Regions from separate parts of the Homo sapiens genome. Here regions 2, 3, 4, 5 and 6 are each linked to region 1. Evidence: promoter capture Hi-C in human tissues and cell types (Jung and others, 2019). All regions are on one chromosome and are shown on one strand. Each heading gives the region's core, a stretch centred on a gene start or on the middle of the fragment in contact. The rest is flanking DNA. Distances are from core to core; before and after follow the strand shown.

What was found. The method cuts DNA at HindIII sites, captures the fragments that hold promoters and counts their contacts. A contact is called where the count stands out against the background at its distance.
Region 2: a contact is called between a fragment that was not itself captured here and the fragment with the promoter of PRELID2 in region 1, in 2 of the 25 tissues and cell types used here (dorsolateral prefrontal cortex and mesenchymal stem cells).
Region 3: a fragment that was not itself captured here is called in contact with the fragment with the promoter of PRELID2 in region 1 in 2 of the 25 tissues and cell types used here (dorsolateral prefrontal cortex and lymphoblastoid cells).
Region 4: a contact is called between a fragment that was not itself captured here and the fragment with the promoter of PRELID2 in region 1, in 1 of the 25 tissues and cell types used here (dorsolateral prefrontal cortex).
Region 5: a contact is called between a fragment that was not itself captured here and the fragment with the promoter of PRELID2 in region 1, in 1 of the 25 tissues and cell types used here (dorsolateral prefrontal cortex).
Region 6: a contact is called between a fragment that was not itself captured here and the fragment with the promoter of PRELID2 in region 1, in 1 of the 25 tissues and cell types used here (dorsolateral prefrontal cortex).

What each region holds. Positions count from the first base shown.
Region 1 is chr5:145,834,092-145,837,609 of GRCh38, forward strand. PRELID2 (PRELI domain containing 2) reads right to left here and starts at 1,251. Exons shown (of 7, transcript NM_205846.3): 1 at 1,086-1,251. The coding sequence starts at 1,160. RefSeq lists a silencer at 1,443-1,562. The HindIII fragment of the contact is 8,273 bases long and covers 1-3,518 here.
Region 2 is chr5:144,220,609-144,224,126 of GRCh38, forward strand. All of the region lies in intron 3 of KCTD16 (potassium channel tetramerization domain containing 16), which reads left to right. Among named protein-coding and RNA genes, the nearest start is that of KCTD16, 51 kb to the left of the region's middle. The HindIII fragment of the contact is 5,124 bases long and covers 1-3,518 here.
Region 3 is chr5:144,239,592-144,243,109 of GRCh38, forward strand. All of the region lies in intron 3 of KCTD16 (potassium channel tetramerization domain containing 16), which reads left to right. Among named protein-coding and RNA genes, the nearest start is that of KCTD16, 70 kb to the left of the region's middle. The HindIII fragment of the contact is 5,226 bases long and covers 1-3,518 here.
Region 4 is chr5:144,301,444-144,304,961 of GRCh38, forward strand. All of the region lies in intron 3 of KCTD16 (potassium channel tetramerization domain containing 16), which reads left to right. Among named protein-coding and RNA genes, the nearest start is that of KCTD16, 130 kb to the left of the region's middle. The HindIII fragment of the contact is 5,492 bases long and covers 1-3,518 here.
Region 5 is chr5:144,384,128-144,387,645 of GRCh38, forward strand. The region is part of intron 3 of KCTD16 (potassium channel tetramerization domain containing 16); the gene reads left to right. Among named protein-coding and RNA genes, the nearest start is that of KCTD16, 220 kb to the left of the region's middle. The HindIII fragment of the contact is 3,150 bases long and covers 422-3,518 here.
Region 6 is chr5:144,486,314-144,489,831 of GRCh38, forward strand. No RefSeq gene overlaps it. Among named protein-coding and RNA genes, the nearest start is that of KCTD16, 320 kb to the left of the region's middle. RefSeq lists an enhancer at 1,340-1,841. The HindIII fragment of the contact is 6,518 bases long and covers 1-3,518 here.

The DNA of each region.
Region 1 (3,518 bases), core at 1-2,500:
TCAGTATTGAGGAAGAGTTCATTATCTGTATTGAAATCGGTTGTAGTAATACAAACAACAATAACATTTTAGAGCCCTAACTAAACATCAGTAGCAGTGAGAAAAAGAAAAATAGCTCAGAGCAGATTGTGTGAGTTACAGTGAAATATGCAAAATCAATCAAGCCCAGAGAGACAAGAGTATAGGACTTTAGTGGTCCCCTCCTCACCCAACCCATTCCTGGGAGCAACTGGTTAAAGGCATTTTGTTCCTGACCAGCTGCCTTACCCATTATCTTCAAGTTCCTGGAATTTGTGATACAAAGAACAATGTACAGACAATCAATAGTTTATGTTATTTTAATATAAATTCTTGGTAAACAACTTAGGAAGTGCTTCTTATTCTCCTTTAAAAACCCACTTTCGACTTCTGCTCATCAGAATGTATACTCAGGGCACCTTCACTCCCAGGATGCAGCCCTCAAACTTGGCTCGAATGAACTCTCTTTTTATATTGATTTTGCCTCAGTTTCTTCATTTAGGTCACAACTGTGCTAAGCACTTTACACAAGTTACCTCATTTGGATCCTCACAACAACTCTATGAGTCGGTACTATTATTTTCCCCATTTTACAGATTAGCAAACTAAGGCACAAAGAGAGTAAGCAACCTGCACGATGTCCCACAGCTGTTTAATAAGGAGCAGCGGATGGGGCAGCAGAACCATCATGCTGAGTAAACCAGGATGACTGCCCAATGGCCTCCCCTCGCTTTTAAGGGGTCAGTGATGAACCGGAAAGCTCCACACGTCGGTCATCTGCAACTCCACGGAGCTCACGAGCTGGGATTCCCGGAGGCTCTTCCTAAAAGGAAAGCCTCTTCTTTCAGCTGGGGCAGGTGTGAACGTGATGCCAAGCACGGCCCCTTTTCCCGCTCCCTGTAAAGGGAGTCTTCGAGGAAATCCCTCTCGACCCACACATCCCTGAAGCAAAGCCCGCAGCTGGAAAGAGACACTGGCGGTGCCAGCTTCCGCGTGGATGAAGGAGAGGAGAGAGGGGCAAGCAGCGGAGGCAGCGCGGGATACGGAAGGTGGAAGCGGGGCGGTACCTTTCGGAGAAAGCTGGCGACCACCTGCTCGAAGGGGTACTTGTACACCTGGTGCACATCCACCGAGACCCCCATCCCCGCGCGCCGCGGGCCCCGCGCACCGGCCACGCCTCCGCGAGCTCAGAGCTGCCCAGGGCTCCGCAGAGGCCCGGAGGCGCCCACACTCGGACAGCCACATGGGCGTGGCCTTTTTCCTCCGCTTTTCAAACTTTCGAAACTTTATTGGCCACTCGGAGAAACGCGCAGTCGGCCACGCCCACGCCCCTACTGCCAGAGTCCGGGGCCTGGGGTTACAGAGCGCGGGAGGCGCTGGAGCGCTCCCAGAGCACCCGGGGCCCCGCGGTCTCCACGCTGGCGGCGCCAGAGCGGCCCTGGTGCCCTCCCGCGGCCGCGCCTGCCGAGAAAAGCTTCTCTGCCTGGGAGCCATCACGCCCCGCCCCAGGAAACCTGGACCTTGGGCTTATGCGTTTATGGTATCACCGCCTGGAGTCACAGAATAAGCCGTGGTTGGCAGCACGGGAAAAAAGTATTAATAAGGAAGGCCTGGTGTGACAAAGGCCAGCATTACTCATGCCACCAGGCAGCTGCCTCTGAGGCTTGGGTTTGGGCCTCGTGTAAGGTAAAGATTGCCTCGGGAATAAGAACCGCGTTTTAGTGCACCAAAACCTGCAGGTAAGTTCCTTTGCTCGCTAAGGTTAAACACCACGGAGCAAGGAACTAGAGGATACAAAAGAGTTGCGAGTATTATTATTTACTGCAACCAACAGATGTTAGGAGAACCAGCACGTTAATCCGTGTATTCAGCACGGTTCTGAGGCCTCCTATGCCCCAGCGCTGTAGTGGGCACTGCGGATTCCGCAGGGAGGAAACACCAGCTCTGCTGATGAGCCGGCTGATTTCACACCCAATCAACAAGCTGGGAAAATAAAAACAATAATCGGTTAAAGTGACACGGGCGCGGACATGATTTTAGTGAGGGTGATTATGGAGGGTCTCTGAGGTGATGACTTTTACGATTTTGCCATCTCGCTCGCCCCTGCCATACGCAGTCACACTGGTCTGGCAAAACCCTAGCCTTGTGTAAATCTAGGTCTCCTCTGACTGTCTCTACCCAAGCCACCAGAAGGGGCTGAAGGAAAATACACACCCACTGTGCATCTTTTAAGTTCATAACCACTAACCCTATGGCGCCTTTTAATGGTGCCAGACAAATACACTATGAAAGTACTGTATTTCTGGCTGGGTGCGGTGACTCACGCCTGTAATCCCAGCACTTTGGGAGGCCAAGGTGGGCGGATCGCCTGAGGTCCGGAGTTCCAGACCAGCCTGGCCAACATGGTGAAACCCTGTCCCTACTAAAAATACAAAAATTAGCCAGGCGTGATGGCGGGCGCCTGTAGTCCCAGCTACTCCGGAGGCTGAGGCAGGAGAATCGCTTGAACCCGGGAGACGGAGGTTGCAGTGAGCAGAGCTCGCCCATTGCACTCCAGCCTAGGCGACAAGAGCAAGACTCCATCTCAAAAAAAAAAAAAAAAGAGAGTACTGAATTTCTCTAATCCACTTACTCTCCCGCATTCCTCCACACCTCTGACACCTTTGTTCCCAGCCTTATACTCCAGTCATTACCTTACTTCCATTTTCACTTAGTCAATAGGTCACATCGCTCTGCCACCTCTCTACCCACCAGACCAAATGCCTTGCCTTCACTCTTGTTCCTGTGGGTGAACTGTCAGCACTTTGTTTTAGCACCAGTGTCTCCATTTGTCCACTGAATCCTGAGGTGAACTGAAAAATGTTTAACAAATAGCTGTCCTTTAAAGTATAAATCAAGCAAGGCCCTGATTTCCAAAGGTTGCTGATTCCTGTGGTGTAAATACTCCTACCATGTTTAAAGATGCCAACTCGATGTCACTAAACACAAGTTGGGGATTTAGCAACATGGAGTTGAGTGAGGAGTGGGAGTTGGGGAGGGAAGCACAGAAGCACACCATCACATAGTATTTCCACCACCCACATACGACAGCCATAAAGAACCAAAAACATAAATAATGGAAAATGTAGCAGGAAGGGATGAGTTTTCAATGTTTATTACTCTTTGGCCAGGCTCCTATGGTTCATGCCTGTAACCTCAGCACTTTGGGAGGCCAAGGCAGAAGGATCACTTGAGGCCAAGAGTTTGAGGCCAGTGTAGGCAACATAGTGAAACCCCATCTCTACAAAAAATAAAATAAAAAATTAGCCAGGTGTGGCAGTGCACACCTGTAGTCCTAGCTACTTGAGAGGCTAAGGCCAGAGGCTCTATTAAATCCGGAAGTTCAAGGCTGTAGTGAACTATGATCGTGCCATGCACTCCAGCCTGGGCCACAGAGTGAGACCCATCTCAAATAAATAAATATTTATTAATTTTTATATGTGATTGTAAATTTATATACT
Region 2 (3,518 bases), core at 449-2,948, 1.6 Mb before region 1:
ATGTATGTAGGTGTATATAATAGCTGGCTTCTTATAGAAATGAATGAAAAGGGCCAGGTGCAGTGGCTCACGCCTGTAATCCCAGCACTTTGGGAGGCCGAGGCGGGTGGATCACTAGGTCAGGAGATCGAGACCATCCTGGCTAACACGGTGAAACCCCGTCTCTACTAAAAATATAAAAAATTAGCCGGGCGTGGTGGCGGGCACCTGTAGTCCCAGCTACCTGGGAGGCTGAGGCAGGAGAATGGCATGAACGCAGGAGACGGAGGTTGCAGTGAGCCGAGATCACGCCACTGCACTCCAGCCTGGGCGACAGAGCGAGACTACGTCTCAAAAAAAAAAAAGAAGAAGAAATGAGTGAAAGATAAAAAAGAAAAGGGCAACTTGAACCTTGAGAAAGAGGTTAAGAGATGTGGACAGGAGTGGGCAAAGTCACTTTGCTAAGTCAGATTCCTTAGGTACCTCCGTTGTATGACAGGAATGGTAGATCTATGTAACTGCATTGTAAGACACTGAGTAGCAAATAATACCACATATGTAAAGTGGCCATGTTGCTTATTAGATGTCTGCTATTAAGGCAGATTTTATATTAGCTTGAGTGAACATCTAGAGAATGTCTTAAGGATGCGTAATGAAGAAGAGAGACATTAAATCTGCTTTAGTATTATTATTATTATACTTTAAGTTCTGGGATACATGTGCAGAACGTGCAGGTTTGTTACATAGGTATACACATGCCATGGTGGTTTGCTGCACCCATCATCCCATCACCTACATTAGGTATTTCTCCTAATGTTATGACTCCCCTTGCCCCCCACCCCCTGACAGGCCCCAGTGTGTGATGATCCTTTCTCTGTGTCCATGTGTTCTCATTGTTCAACTCTCACTTATGAGTGAGAACATGCAGTGTTTGGTTTTCTGTTCTTGTGTTAGTTTGCTGAGAATGATGGTTTCCAGCTTCATCCGTGTCCCTGCAAAGGACATGAATTCATCCCTTTTTATGGCTGCATAGTATTCCATGGTGTATATGTGCCACATTTCTTTATCCAGTCTATTATTGATGGGCATTTGGGTTGGTTTGAAGTCTTTGCTATTGTGAACGGTACTGTAATAAACATACGTGTGCATGTGTCTTTAGAGTAGGATGATTTATAATCCTTTGGGTATATACCCAGTAATGGGATTGCTGCGTCAAATGGTATTTCTGGTTCTTGATCCTTGAGGAATCCCCACACTGTCTTCCACAATGGTTGAACTAATTTACACTCCCATCAACAGTGTAAAAGTGTTCCTATTTCTCCACATCCTCCCCAGCACCTGTTGTTTCCTGACTTTTTAATGATTGCCATTCTAACTGGCGTGAGATGGTATCTCATTGTGGTTTTGATTTGCATTTCTCTAATGACCAGTGATGATGAGCTTTTTTTCATATGTTTGTTGACCGCATAAATATCTTCTTTTGAGAAGTGTCTGTTCACCTTTGCCCATTTTTTGATGGGGTTGTTTGTTTTTTTCTTGTGAATTTTTTAAAGTTCTTTGTACATTCTGGGTATTAGCCTTTTGTCAATGGATAGATTGCAAAAATGTTCTCCCATTCTGTAGGTTGCCAGTTCTAACTGCTTTTTTTAGAGAGTTGCAAAAGCATTTATATATCAATGGTCAAAATAAAAAATAAGTATTTTAATGGGCAAATACATTTCTATTATTTAAATTATTATAAGACTAGCGATTAAAGAAAAAGTAATAATGTGGTGTGGGGTATTCAACATTAAAGTAAGATGCATAACAACTATAATCCAAGGGCCTGGAGCAGATAAATGAGGATATGCCATTGTAAGATTCCTATGTGCACAAAGCGGCATAATATCACTTAGAAGTAGACATACACTTCTCAAAAGAAGACATTTATGCCGCCAACAGACACATGAAAAAATGCTCATCATTGCTGGCCATCAGAGAAATGCAAATCAAAACCACAATGAGATACCATCTCACACCAGTTAGAATGGCGATCATTAAAAAGTCAGGAAACGACAGGTGCTGGAGAGGATGTGGAGAAATAGGAACACTTTTACACTGTTGGTGGGACTGTAAACTAGTTCAACCATTGTGGAAGACAGCGTAGCGATTCCTCAAATATCCAGAACTAGAAATACCATTTGACCCAGCCATCCCATTACTGGGTATATACCCAAAGGATTATAAATCATGCTGCTATAAAGACACATGCACACGTATGTTTACTGCGGCGCTGTTCACAATAGCAAAGACTTGGAACCAACCCAAATGTCCAACAATGATAGACTGGATTAAGAAAATGGGGCACATATACAGCATGGAACACTATGCAGCTGTAAAAAAGGATGAGTTCATGTCTTTTGTAGGGACATGGATGAAGCTGGAAACCATCATGCTCAGCAAACTATCGCAAGGACAAAAAAACCAAACACCGCATGTTCTCACTCATAGGTGGGAATTGAACAATGAGAACACTTGGACACAGGAAGGGGAACATCACACACCAGGGTCTGTTGTGGGGTCGGGGGAGCGGGGAGGGATAGCATTAGGAGATATACCTAATGTAAATGACGAGTTAATGGGTGCAGCACACCAACATGGCACATGTATACATATGTAACAAACCTGCACATTGTGCACACGTACCCTAGAACTTAAAGTATAATAAAAATAATATATGTATAAAAAAGTAGATAGTAGAAAGTTAAAAATATGTACTATAAATTCTAAAGACATCATTAAAGTAACAAAACACAGATATGTAGCTAATAAGCTAGTAAAGAAATAAAGAAGATAAAATGAAAAATAGGTTTTAATAGAATGGTAGCATCAGCCCTATATTTTTATACAGTTCAGTATCATACATCCAAGATATGGGTACATTTGGATCTTCCTGACTTGTGTAATAATTGTACCGTTATGGTGTGTAGATCCTAGGTCCTAGCCAAACAGATTAAAACAAATCCCTTATCCAAGTCCTGTAAACTGCAATGCTGGATGAAAGTGTGAAGTACATTTTTTGTTTTTTTTTTTGATCCTAGGCTGCGTACTTTATAATATCAACTTACTTTATAAAATTAGAGCATCCCGAGGTGGAGAGGGGAGGAATTCCATGATTTCATGATTCAGTTTCCTGACTTCGAGTTGCTAGGCTGTAAATGAAGTCCTAGGTAGAAGACAACATATAGAAGCTTTTAAAGTGGTGCTGTTTGGATTGAAGTGAGAATTAGGTAAGGTGTTCCTCCTTGTTCCCCATTTCTTCCTTTTATCCTGGTGGTCCTTGGGGCAATTCCAGGAAACCTAGGGCTCAGCGTAGGTGTTTTTTTTTAAAAAAACCCGACCCAGATGTTCTAAATAAAAGGTGAATTTCCCTCTCTTGAAAACTTGGCTTTTTGCATTTTTGTTCAGGTTCGTAGTAGTGTGTTCATTTTTATTTGTTTTGTTTTCCTTTGACTTATATTTAGTTCTCAGAACAAGTCTACATGAAGGCAATTATTAGA
Region 3 (3,518 bases), core at 692-3,191, 1.6 Mb before region 1:
TCTCCTAGAAACACATAAAATATCATAGTTATAAACTACCGTGACTTTTCAAATGCCTACTTTGTGCTCAGCATTAAGGAAAATATAAAAAGAAACAAGGTTATCCCTATCATCAAGTATCTTATAGTCTGATGAAAAACCAATTACTACACATAAAATAATAGTGAATGATAACTATACAACGCATAAACTATATGTAGATTTTAAGGCTGGAAAATCTATTTGGGTTTATGGAGGCAGTGAGATTCCACTGGTACTTGAAGGATAAATAAGATTTGGAAAATTATTAATCTCTACAAGTGAGAGGAAATGAATGAATTTTGGAAATGTAAAATGCATAGTGTCAGCTTCTGGGATAATAGTAATTGCTTCCATTTTTTTAAGTGCTTTGTATATGCCAGACATAGGCTAAGATCTTTACCTGGATTACCCCCTTTAGTCCTCATAGCAGCCCTATGAAGTGGGTACTATTAACACCTCTATTTACATGTAAGAAAATTGAACTTCAGAAAATTAAGTAATGTAACATCAGACACGTAGCTAATAAGTGGTAAAATCAGATTTCAAACCCAGATATGTCTGTGTCTAAAGTCCATGGCATTTGCCACCATATTATGTCACTTTCTGACTGCATCAGAATGCTTTCAAATGAGTATCTGGAATCTCCTGAGGAATCAGTCAGCAATTATGAAACCTCCCGATATCTCTTTAAATTCGAATTGTGCTTCCTTCTTTCATTCCTTCTTCTTTCTCTTCTTCATTCCTTTCTTTCTTCATTTCAGTGTGTATTTTTTCTTTGTTTTTTTACTTTTTAAAATTTTGAGATAATGTAAGTCTAACAGAAGAGTTGAAAAAATAGTACAGAGTCCCTGTATTACCCTTCATCCAGCCTCTTCTTTTGTTAATATTTTGTACAACCAGAGGACTTAGTAAAACTGAGAAGTTAAATCTCAGTATAATACATTAGCTAAAGTATACAACTTAACTTGATTTTCACAAATGTTTCCGCTAATATTCTCTTTCTGTTAGAAAGTCCTGTCAATTTTTCCCACATTGCATTTAATCCTCACGTCTCCTTAGTCTCTCCTCCCATCTGTGAAAGTCCCCCAGTATTTTCTTATCTCTCAGGACCTTGACACTTCTGAAGACTATTGGTTAGTTATTTTTTCCAATGTCTTCCAATCTGGGTTTTTCTGATGTCTTCTTAAGATTATATTGAGATTATGAATTATTGAACAAGATACCAGGGAGGCGGTTTGCTCTTCTCAGTGCTTCATACCAGGGGTACTTGATGACAATGTATGGTTTTGAAACATCCTTCAATGCTCTTAGATTGTTTAGGCTGGTGAGGAGATACAAGAAGTATATCTCTGAAGTGAGCAAGGATGGGATCGAGACACCAGGACTGAAGAGGGAGGTGGCAAGCTCTCCTCCCTGTATTATATCTTTCATGCTTGGAAGCTACTACAATGTAGAACAGGGCAGAATTCTTCTATGAAATCATGCATGGTGCTTGAGGTCCTCCTCTTAACTCTTAAACTCACTCGAAGTGTCTTGAGCTTTAGTCTGAATCTGATTTTCTGCTTCTATACCCTGGGAATAATGACACTGGAAAGAAGGGCACTACGTGAGTAAAAAACACTCCAAGTAATGCAATTCCTGACTTTACTCATGTTCTCAAAACATTTTTCAGAAGCATTGAAAAATAATGTTGAAAACACAGCTTTCATGATGGGTGAGGTTGAAAGTTTACATTGAAAGCACTCATCATGTTTGGGAATAATAAAACATTGTAGTAGAGTCACTCTTCTTCTCACAAGACCCTTTGGATTTTACATAGAATGTAGACTGGAAATTGCAATCAGATCAATTAAAGGCACAATATTTTATATTATTGCCTTAGTCACTGACTTCGATGGATATTTTAATTGTATTCAAGGAGGCAAACAAGTCTTGCATGTGAATAAATATGAAAGGATTGTAAGTATAAAGACTTTATTGCTATCACTCCCCTGTTGAATACAGTGATTTTCTGGTTACCTGATCTGAAATGAATTGTAAGTAAGCATTAGGAGAGAGCACAATGCAGTAATTCAGGGCACCATATTTTGCCTATGAAGCATAAATATTTGAACATTTGCATTATCATTTCTGAATGAGTGGATTAGTGGCTATGAAAAATTAACTCATGTTCTTTCAAGTATGATTGAAATATTACATTCAATCTTAACCCCCTAGGAAAAAACAACACAAATCCCTGTGTTTCATGAAATGTGAAAAGAATCTCATTTCAATATCTTGCTTCATTTAACTGGTGCCACATCTATGATACAAAATGGCAACCATGGTGTAGCTAAGAATTGAAGACTCCCGTTCTGTTCTTGAAAGGAATAGTGCACAAGTGTACCCTACTTTACTCACTTTCTCTGAAAGTTGTTTGTAAGTTGAAATTTATAAATTCAGAAGCAAAGCTGACAACTGAAAGAGGCTTAATTTTATTTTATTTTTTTTGAAGGGGAAGCTCTTTTTGCAATGTTTTGTTTTTAAGCTTATTATTTTTAAGTATGAAAAGATGTTAAAGCAAGACACATTGTTTGGATTTTTAAGTCCAAGAACTCCTTAATTATCTAGGGGCCATGTACTGACATTCTAGTGTACAGACAGAGGTCATGTTAGTCTTGTCTATAAAAAGATGTACTTCTTAGCAAGTGTCTTTTTGTAGAAAATGATAAGCATTTCACCATATGGTAATAAAATATTATTATTACTATTATTGGATAAATAACACAAACCATAGAAAATTATATACTTTTTCCCTATGTATAACACCTTTACCAAGTTCCCAACTAATATGTTATTGTTGTCACATATTTTATTCTATGTGCATTTTATATCTCACCAGACAATATAATTCATACAGTCAATACTAATTAATGTATTAATATTGGTATGTTATTGTCTTAGTCCATTTTGTGTTGCTATAAAGAAATACTTAAGCCTGGGTAATTTATACAGACAAAAAGGTGTATTTTGCTCATGATTTGGCTGGTTGGAAAGTTTATGATTGGGTATATGCATTGGATGAGGGCTTCAGGCTGCCTCTACTCATGGCTGAAGGTAAAGGAGAGCTGATGTGTGTAGAGATTGCATGGTCATAGAGGAAGCAAGGGGAGGAGGAGGCTCCAGGCTCTTTTTACAACTAGGAACAAATAGAACCAGAACTCACTTAAGCCCAAGGAGAGGCATTAATCTATTCATGAGGGATCTAACCCCATGACCTAAGACCTCCCATTGGGCCCATCTCTAATATTGGGGATCAAACGTGAGGTTTGGAAGGGATAAATATCTAAATCATAGCAATTATTATTAACTGAAGTCCATAATGTATTCAGGTTTAGTTTTTACCTACTGACCTTTTCCTGTTTCAAGATTCCATCTGGGATAACATATTACATTTAATATTTTATTTCCTTAGGCTCCTTTGGCTGATGTTTTCTCATAATTAGACTAGGGTTATG
Region 4 (3,518 bases), core at 366-2,865, 1.5 Mb before region 1:
ATAAGACAAGTGTGTATGCCCTGACTCCTCAGCAAAACTCTAAGCTCCTTGTGTTAAACATAATTTTTGTTGTGCTTATATCTTTCTTTGTTTCTAGCGAAATTCTATGTATATAGTAGGTGCTTGGAAAATTCTTGCCTTAAGAATGGATTAAGAATCCATCTCTACTTTAAAAATTCACTTGCACAATGCCGTCTCGACATAGTGAACAGGATATCTTTGGTAACGCTCTGTCATTTTTAACAACATGGAAATTACCACTTTGCTAATCAACCCATGAACAAAAAAGTGTCTTGATGCTTCCCTTAGCAACCAAGTGCTCAGCAGTTTGCCCATCCAAAATCTTGTATTTTTGGTTCTTCAACATAGTAGCTTTTGATGTTTTAGATACTTTTAGGATTCATGAAAGTGGAAACAAGAAAATTCAGAAGAAGAATTTTATTTCATGTTTATTTTATTTTATTGTTTCTAATGATAATGACAGATTTCAGTTATTGAATACTTATTCTGTGGCAGTCACTCTTCTAAATAGTTTTGGGATATTTTCTTTTTTAAATTTTACGCAAAATTAAGTAAGTTTTATGTAAAAATTAGGTTTTATTACTATCCCCTTTTAAAAATGAGAAGATTGTGGTGAAGATAGTTTAAGTGACTTGCCCAAGAGCAAATAGCTAGAGGCAGTAGAGCTTCAAACCCAGCTTTTCTGACCCCAGAGCACATTCATAGGTGATCATTATAAAAAGTGAAGAGACAGGCAGGTTTAGCACTGCACAGTGGTCAAGTGTCTTCAAGCTTAATAGTATCACTTTATGAATTTCAAAGTACTCTGGGCAGGTGTCAGGGAGAAGAAAAAAATGAAAAGAAACAAAAGGAGAAAGAGAAATAAGTTTAAAACAAGAATATATGTTGTCACAGTAAGTGTGTAATAAATATTTTTGAATGAAGTGAAATATGAAAGACAAAAACAAAGGAGGATTTTATGGCAGGTGGTAGAAGATGGTGTTCAACCATGACTTTGGGTTCTATCTTTGGTACAGAAGAACTACAGACTTCAAGTATGATTGCTTTTCTAGGTTGCAGCTTCACTCATCCCTGGCTATATCTAGACTTGTTAACAAATTTATAAATCTTCACCCACTGATTTTTCTTTCTGGTTAGAATCAGCCCAAATGACTTTTAGCTTCCTGAATACTTATTATCGTACGTCAAATACAGTATCAAAGAAAGAATAACTTAACTGTAAAACACCCTGTTTTTCTGATTCTAGCTCTGACATTCAACATCCTTGGAAAAATCAGTTGCTCTAGTGTATAGAATGTTTTCAAATTGCATGAGAGATTATGCCACAGTTGTATGTGATGAAAACAGTTTTTAATAATTTGATATGGACAGAATGATTAAAAAGCCCACTTGGCCTCTTCTTTCCTCATTGTTCTGTCTCTTTAAACTTGGATCCCTTTGGGTTGGCTGTAAGCAGTGGAAAAGAAATGCAGCCTATAGAATGAGCAGCAGGATATTGTGGAATATGGAAATCATTTCTATATTGTACAGGGAAATCTAATTACCTCTATCGATCATTCATCCAGTCTTTCCTCTCTTCTGTTTTGTTGAGTGTTTGGTTGTATAATTGACATTATTAGAGCGTTAGTGCCTCCTTTCAAAAGGCCTGTGGTTTGCTGGCCATTAGCAATCTTGATAGACGTGTCAAGGACAGAAGACCTCCAAATGCAGTCAAATTTTCTTTACACAGTAGGGTGGCTGGCTGTCTCTAGTTAACTCATGTTTTCTGCAAGTGTTATTAGAATTATATCACTTCATATGCAAGCCCTCTATGTTTCAGCTGACTCTTAATTACCTAAGCTGGGGAAGTGATTCTTTTTCTAGACTTAGGAACAAAGATGAATAGCTTTATAGGCTTGTGAGATCTCTGTAAAATCTTTTATGATTTGTTAAAGATCAAGTACAGCACTTTTAAGATTCTTTAGGACCTTGAGGTTGGGCTGGGTTGTTCAGAGATGGAAATAGAACCCTTGGCTTTTGTGTGGCAAGAGCAATGGAAATGACCAAAGGTTCAGTCTCTTGTCAAAAGTTTCAAACATGATTAAGCTTTTTGTGCTCATTATCTCAGAGTGACCTGCACCTGTTTAGTTGTTATCAGAAATATCATTTAAAACATCTAAAACTCTTCATTATCAACTCTTTATTTTTCAGGCCACTATAAGGAAACAACAAATATGATAATGCAAGGACTAGGTGGGGGTGGGAAATGAGGAGATCCAGGTTGGGGCTCAGGCTCTCCAGTAAGTGGCTCTGTGAGGCTGGGGAGGTCATTTCTCCTCTCCTGCCTTCACCTTCTGTTTCATAAGTTGGTTGGATTTGGGAGTTCAAACTTAAATGCCATTAGAGGCCTGGAAAAGAGTTTAAGACAAAAGACAGGAATTAGTTCTGTGGTCATTGGAGAGTGCATATCAACCTGGCCTATAGATGTCACAGCCTTAAACACACTTAAAGATATCCTGGCACAGAATATACATCTATGACACTTTTTGGCCCATAATTGCCATTTTACCACTCCCGTTTATATAATCTAAACTCCTCCCCTTCTTTAGGTATACATTTTCTGGCTCTACAAAAATATTCAAATAAAAAGAGGAAATGAAAGACCTAAAAGAAATGTCTTATAGTAAAGAAAAAAGAAACAAGTAAATCATGTGAGGATAAAAATTCACTTATTTTAGATAGAATAAAAAAAGACCAGGGTGTCATAGTTAAATCCAAGTTGACTGCGATGAGCCAGTGTGGGTAATAGTGCTGTGGGGAAAGGAAAGGACAGTGTGATCCTGAAGTGCAGCATGAAGCACATGTGACATAGCAGCAATAAGTCATCTTTCTGCTGCACTTAGCTTTAGTCTGACTCTCATTCCAGGGGAGTCCAGATGTGGTCAGTGGCCCTTAAAAGGGATATGAAGAATCTGGGAAGCACCTAGAGGTTAAGGGAATGGGAAATTGTTTCTTCGGAGGAAAGCCTAAAAGAATTTGAATTGATCAGCCTGGAGAAGAGAAGGAAAGTATTTGGCTTAATTACGCTTCACAGACAGGTTGCATTTTTTCATTGAGGGTATAAAGCAGTTTCCTTTCTGTCTGTGAGTAAAAACATTATATGGAAGAAGTGAGTTCAAAGGAAAGTAATGGAGACATGATTGGGGATGAGGCAGAATAATGACTTGCACCGTCCAGTGGCAAAATGCTAGGGCGATCTACTGAGAGATATTGGAACGTTTTGGTCCCAGGAGATCATCAAGTAGAGAAAAGGCAAGTGATTGATCTGTTTGTCCTGAAGGTAAGGAGGGACTACTGTGCACTGCAGGTCTGTCACTGTCTTGACTAATGTCATTATCATCATCCTTCTCATTAGCACCACCTTTTGGTTGCCTCCCTTAACCATAACAGGTAGATATCACAGAACACTAGGGCCAAAGGCCCTTTTGTGGTACTGGAAACAGAAACCTCGAAGCCAC
Region 5 (3,518 bases), core at 747-3,246, 1.4 Mb before region 1:
GATTTAAGATGGTGAGTTAATATATTTTATGCTCTTCTCTCATGCAGATCAGGTAGCAAGTGATGGAGCATTTCTACGTGTATCCAAACCTTTGCAAAATGGGTTGCCATCATTTCCTTGTAATGGATAGACAAAGTCCAGGCACTTCTTTGGCACCCTTATAGCTTTGAAAAGCTGGTAAGGGGATAGAACTGGAGGCTAAGGAAGAAGTGGGAAAGGAGCTTCGTCATTCTGTGTTTTAAATCCTTTCTCTGTTGTCTTCATCAGACATCTGACCAAAACGACAGCACTGTTGGCATTGCTGCTGAAATATACTAATACCTTACAATGAAGTTTTCAAAATAAATACATTTTTTCTAAGTAACTTTAACATAAAATTTTATTTATTTTTTCATTATAGCGAAATAAAATTTTATTTATTATAACATTGTTTTATTACATCTTCCAAAGTACATTACCTATTTTGCTACCATTTTAAAACAAAATATAGTAAACATAATTTAACCTCTTTCTGATGACTCAAGATAAATTTTACAAATATTCTATTGTTCCGTATTCATCATTAATGTTTGCACTATTATTTCTTTAATGTAGAGACCAAATGCTACAAAACAAATGAACTGTTGTGGTAATATTGGACAATTTTTAGGGTCTTATTTCTGGCTTCTAGCTTTTGTTTCCTAATGATGGTCACTTGGCTATTCTTTAAAGTTTTAGGATGGATAAGTAGGTAATTAAGAGTATAAAATAGCATGTAAGGAAGAGTCAATATAATCTGTAGGATGACCCCTTTCATGTAATGAAGTGCATACATTTTGTGATATTTATTTTGGATGTTTAGAAGCTCGTTCCCTTTTGGACTCACTGTTGGAAGTCTGACATTCAAATAAGTGGGACATTATGGCCTGTATTTTGGCTAAAGGGGATAATGTCTGCAGCTGGAATAAACAATCAGCAAAGTCATAAATCATAATTTCCTTCACACTTCATTGTAAGATAATAATATATGAGCGAAAACTATTTTCCTCTATTATAGCTGTCACTAAAGGAAAATTTCCATTCAGGCTATAACCTCTCAATAAAATATAAGGCACAAAAATTCAGAAAAATATATTTTTGTTTACTCGTAGATGCTGATGACTTCAGTGAAGATAGCATTGTTGCATAATGTCCACAAATCATTGATAATAAAAATATAACCAAGAACATGACATATGCATTTGTTACTTGTATTTTTATATTTAATTTTAAATAGTCTTCAGTAACATGCTTGGGGCCAAGCCATGGGGATTTATTTTTCATGTCCTTCACATCCACTTCTACTTCTTCTGAGTGGTTTCTTCATTGACAGTGGGTGGAAGGGACCAAATATGGACCATATTTCTTTTTCACATGAAATATTTTCCCCCAGATGTTGCTTCATTGTCACTCCATTACTATAGGACAATTTTCTTTGCTTCCCCTTCTCACAATAGAAAATATGGCCACTATAAGCTTTCAAGTTCATGTATTACTTGTCCAGCCATCTGGAAAGACTGAGTCAACTCTTGGTTCCAATCCCAAATTTGCAAAAATGTATATGTCTGCCTCTGGACCAATAAACTGCTTTGTAAGTAGGGCTCATGCTGCACAGATATGTTGGTCCCATTCAAATCATTTAAGAGTATGTGTGTCTTGTGGGGAGGAGGGGTGGTCCCTTAAAAAAAGAAGTGGTTCCTTACCACTTCCTTTTTGGCCTAACAGGACCTAATATTAACGTCTATTTTTAAAAGGCATCAAGATTGCCTTTTAAAAGTTTCACATGCCATCTACTCTTCATTAAAAATATTCATGGTAGAGAGTGAGGCTGAGCTATCTAGTAATCATTGCTTGGGATTTAAAATATTGTTCTTATGTTTTTCATGTAAGCTTGTTGCCACTCAGAGATATTATTTCCAGAAATGTGTAAAGACAGGATATGATAAAACAGATACGTGTATTAGATTGGCAGAAAAACTAAGTTAAGAGCAAGGCAAATAATCTTTAATCTCTTCTTTTCTACAGAGCTCAATAACTATTGACTTGCCCTCTCAGTTGATTGGAAAGGGCCCTCTGTTGTGAACTGAGTGTAGCTAGGGTGTGTACTTCATGCCTTCCGAATGGCAGCTCCATCACTAAAGCATCCCAGTTGCACAGTAACCAATTCCAGGGAACCCCAAATACTTTCATAAAGTTAGTAGCAAGAGGAGTTTCTTGAGATTTCTAGGCATTGTCAAAATACTGATGATTGGTCATTTAAGACTGGTATATTTTTTAGGTAGTTATTGACCACTCTATGGGTAGTACTGTGGATAGTACTGTGGTACTATGGTCACATTTGTTCTCTCTTTCTCTCTCTTTCATTTGTACAGTTCCTACTTTAGACTCTGTATATGCTCATGACTGTGCAGTCCATTGTAAATACTCAATACATATTTACTAAGTGAACAAATATGTATGTCTGCAATGACAGGGAACACATTTCCATCTTTTTATATTCCCTGAATTTCTTAGCTTAATGCACTGCTTATAAGAGACGCTTAGTTAATGCATGTAGGTGAAGAAAAAAAGAATGAAAATTGGCACATTCCAGAGTGCTTTGATGGTTTATTTGGTAAAACAAAAAAACAAACAAAACAAAAAAAACAGCCATTCCTCAAAGACTCAGAACTAACAATAACAACTCAGGCTCCATCAGTCTGAATGTGCTAATGCACATGAGAGTACTTGGTAAGCTTTAAAGTGGTATTATTGTTGTTGTAAAAGACAACTCCAGGCTCACCCAACTAAAATAGCTTACATCTGTAGAGCCCTTTACCAATTACAAAGCACTTTTTTTTTTTGAGACACAATCCTCCTCTGTTGGGGTACAGTGCAGTGGCTGGTTCATGGCTCACTGCAGCCTCAGTCTCCCAGGCTCAAGAGATCCTCCCACCCCAGCTTCCCAAGTAGCTGTGACTACAGGCATGCGCCACCTCACCAGGCTAATTTAATTTTTTTTTTTTTTTTTTTTTGAGAGACAGAGTCTCACTTTGTTGCCGAGGCTGCTCTTGAACTCCTGGGCTCAAGTGATCTTCTGCTTCAGACTCCCAAAATGTTGGGATTACAGGCATGAGCCACTGTGCCCGACCCAAAGCACTTTCATGTATAGTGTCTTTATCATTTTCTCACAACCTCATGGTGGTGGTATTTTTGTTTTCTCCATTTTATAGATGAAGGAGCTCCTTTTTTGAGAAAAAATAAGTCATTCAAGGTCACATATTTAATAGTGAAGTCAAAGTTCAAGCTCTGGTTTTCTGAACCTAAGCCTGAGTTCCTTCCTCCACACTAGAACTAATACCCAAGGGTAATAATTTTTCATTGTAAGGAGTAATGATGCTTCTCAACTTACTTAAAGCATAAAGAAAGAATCAGGTACTCTTTTGCTTTCCTGGAAAAGAAATTAACCACCCTCTAAGTGTTGGAGTTGTGCATAAGCCCCAGGCTAGGCAGGGAGGTCT
Region 6 (3,518 bases), core at 417-2,916, 1.3 Mb before region 1:
GTGAAGTGTTTTTGGTGGCATACTTGCCCCATGATATGCACTGAAAAAATGGAAGGAATTGGGCAACGTACAGTTTGAGAGATGTAATCTCTTTTACACTTTCCACCTTGCACTTTTAAAATGCTCTTTATTATATTTAAAGTCCTGGGAGTTTTGCAGTGAAAACAAAACAAAACAAAACAAAAACTTTCAAACTTTAACCCAGAATCTCCCAGACTGGTCTCACCAAACTTTCTTCCGGTTTTGAGAAACACACTTTGGGAAATGTTTATTTAACCCATTCCCTTCCTTGTATTTCTTGTACAGAAAGGGAAAGTTAAGACCCAGAGAGGAAGAGATGGTTCTGGGTCTAGAACTGCATCTGTGGAATCAAGCTAGGACACTTCTCATATGCTATCTCATGTAAGTGAGATAACAGTTACAGCTTTGTCTTGAGAAACTATTCTAAAGTCACAATATCCATACTGCATGGACCCAAAGTAAAAAGTCCCACAAGGTACAGAAGGCCAAGCAGGAGAAGGTGAGGATCTAGTCTACAGTAATCCTCCTTAAAACTCTGTTACCACTGAAGTCACTTAGGAATGAGATAGTCTATTTTGCCTCAATAAGCTGATCCTTAGCAATAGTGGCTACAAGGATGCTGTACCGTGCTGAATTTCAGTCCACAAGAGGGATGGAAGCTTAGACAGACTGAAGTGATGGAGGGGTTTGGAGAAAAAGTTTTCCCATGAATTCTTTTGTGGAAAGCTGTGGGCTTTCCTCTGAAAACTTGAGAGAGAGAAAGCAACTGTGATGGAGATTTGTGAAGTTAATGACCTCCAAAGCCTTAGAAATTGCTTAAATAGAGCCAAAACTTCATTAAATTTAGGCACAGGGAAAGTCTATGCCTCCACTGTTCCAGAATGACATAGACAAGTAAAGAACCAACATTAAGAGAAAAAGTTGGCTGCAGACTTACAGAATGAACAGCAGGAAGGAATTTATTTGTCACCATTGTTCTGCCCAGAACAGCAGCTAGTTTCCCCCAAAAATCAAGGGTCCTGAGAACACTCCCTAAAGATTCTGCGATGTGGGTGGTGAGGACACAAGGGGGCTCTCTCTACTTGCTGGGGAGCATGGGTGGAAAAAGGGTGTATGGGGAGCCCAGGAAAGCACTGGTAGTAGATCAGGAGAAAGACTCCTCTTGAGATCTCTGGAGAGATTTGGGGAGATTTGTACACAGCCACTGATCAAAAACTCACCCTTCTGATAAATTGAATTGAACAGGACTTGATCAGAAGGATCATAATTTTTGCAACGAGGACAGTGAAAAAGGAAAAAATACGAACTGCTTAGACAATACTTCTTCCCTCCAATTTCAACCCAAAGGCAGCATTCCTTCCCATGACTAAAAAAATATTCAGAGCCCACATCAATCTTGTCCCAAATGGCAGCTGCCACTGAAACAGGTCATGATAAGTCTTCATTTCAATAAGGGGATGATAAAAACCCTTAGCCAGGCAGAGCAGCTTCAGCCTTCAGTAAGCCAGCCTCATGTTGCAGAGCTTAAAAAAATCAATAGGTCAGCAACAAAGGCCCAGGAGGAGGGCAGGGTTTTCAAATGCTAAGATTGCCAAAGAGCTCCAGGCACACCCCATAAACCCCTTGCTTATTCTTATTACCATGTTATGAAAGCACCAAAAATAAATTCTGAGGACTAAACTCAGTCTTTGACTTGTTTTTCTCTTTCTTCTGACTCACCATGTGAGTCTTGCTATCTTTAGGGTAGCAAGAAACAAAAACACCCTACATAACTGGAAGATAGCTAGTATATTGAAATGGTATTGCTCTTCCTCTGTGGATAGGTCTGAGTTCAAACATGCTCTTCAAGGCTGTCTGCTTCCTGATGGATATGCAGCAATTAAATAGGATGTCTCCAAGAGACAAAATCACAGACACATAGGTACCTTTGATACAAATAAAGCTTTTCTCCTCTCCATCCTCCCTGAATGTTCTACTTTTTTTCTATACATTTCTTTCCCTCTCTTTTTATTCTGTTTGTTCTTCACGCGTCTGGAGTATAGGGTAAACATATTTAATAAATCACAGCATCCTTTATCTAACAGTGCCCCTTTCCCCCACCATACGCTTTCCTTGAAGCCTCAATTTCTTCATCTAGTCTGTGATTGGGGACATTGAAGGAGATATATTTTTTGCACCATTTTGCCATCCCTTTCTCAACTGATTTTTACCTCAGCTCTGGCTGGTCTCCTATTTGAAGGAAGAGGTGGAGGTGGGGAGGATTTGGTGGGTCCCAAATATTGACCGTTTTAGATTGTCTTTGAGAGAAAACAGCAAGTCTATCTAGGAGGAAATGAAAGACAAGGAGAAGGTGAGTTGAATGCTGGTGGACTGTGGTCTGTGGTCCTAAAGCTATTGCAAATGGGTGAGCTACCTTAACTGTTTCTTCCCTGGGGATGAAGTGGGAACCCAAGACCTTTCCCTGCTAATTTCCACATATGCCCCAGTTTAATGACTCATTTTCTGCCTTAACCAGAGCTTGCACCCTTTGCTCCAGAAAGTCCAGCATGAATTTCTGTTTTGTCTTTAACATGGATAGACGGGAAGGGATTGGAAATGGTGAGAAAGTAGTGAACTTATTGGAGTTAGACAGAGAAGCCACACAGTTAGCAGCAAATCATTCTTTCTCCCTTTGCCCCTGGGAAAGAGTGGCCCTTAGTACCTAGAAATAATAGACTGTCAGTTTGTTTGTTTTTTTTTCATTAAGGAGATGGATGTCCTGGTCTCTCTGTCACCTGATATTAACAAATGTGAGAGAGTGTGAGGAGGGAAAAAGATGTTAATAATAATCAGTTTTGTGTACCTGAGGCATAAGAGATTTTTTTCCTGATAGAGTAAATGAATAACATGGTAATTAACTTGATCTACTCTTTAGGGAGCTGCTACCTGCAGGTCTCTTTGCAAAGCCCAGGCTTTATGCTCATAGTGCAATGATGTTCACAATGTCCTCTGGCACCTTGAGGTTTGCAGTGTGTATTCTCATTCATCTATAGTTTCTGAAAGCTGAAGCAACAGTTGGGGACTTAGAAAGGACTGCATCATTTTCCTCTTAGTTATTTTCTATAACATAACTTCTCGTAGGTCTGTACAACTATAGAATATCTTACATTGCTATTTATGATGCTTTGAGGAAGTGCTGGAAATATAGCAGATTAAAAATTAGCCAAAATAATATACAAACATGTTAATATCAGCTGTTTCCCATATTTTGTGGTACTCTTTTTTTAATAAGTAAATAGCAACCAAAGACAAAAACATACAAGGAAAAAGGGTGTCTTCTTGTTTGAATAGGAAAAATTGATTGTTTACTGTTTTATGACATACAGCCTATACAAATCCCATCCTTTTAGTCTCAAGATTGTGAAAACAACAAAACAGAAAAAGGTCTCCAAAGTACACAAGACCCAGATTCAAGGATTCCTATATGTATGCCAACAACCTTAAGGGAAGAGCTGGAG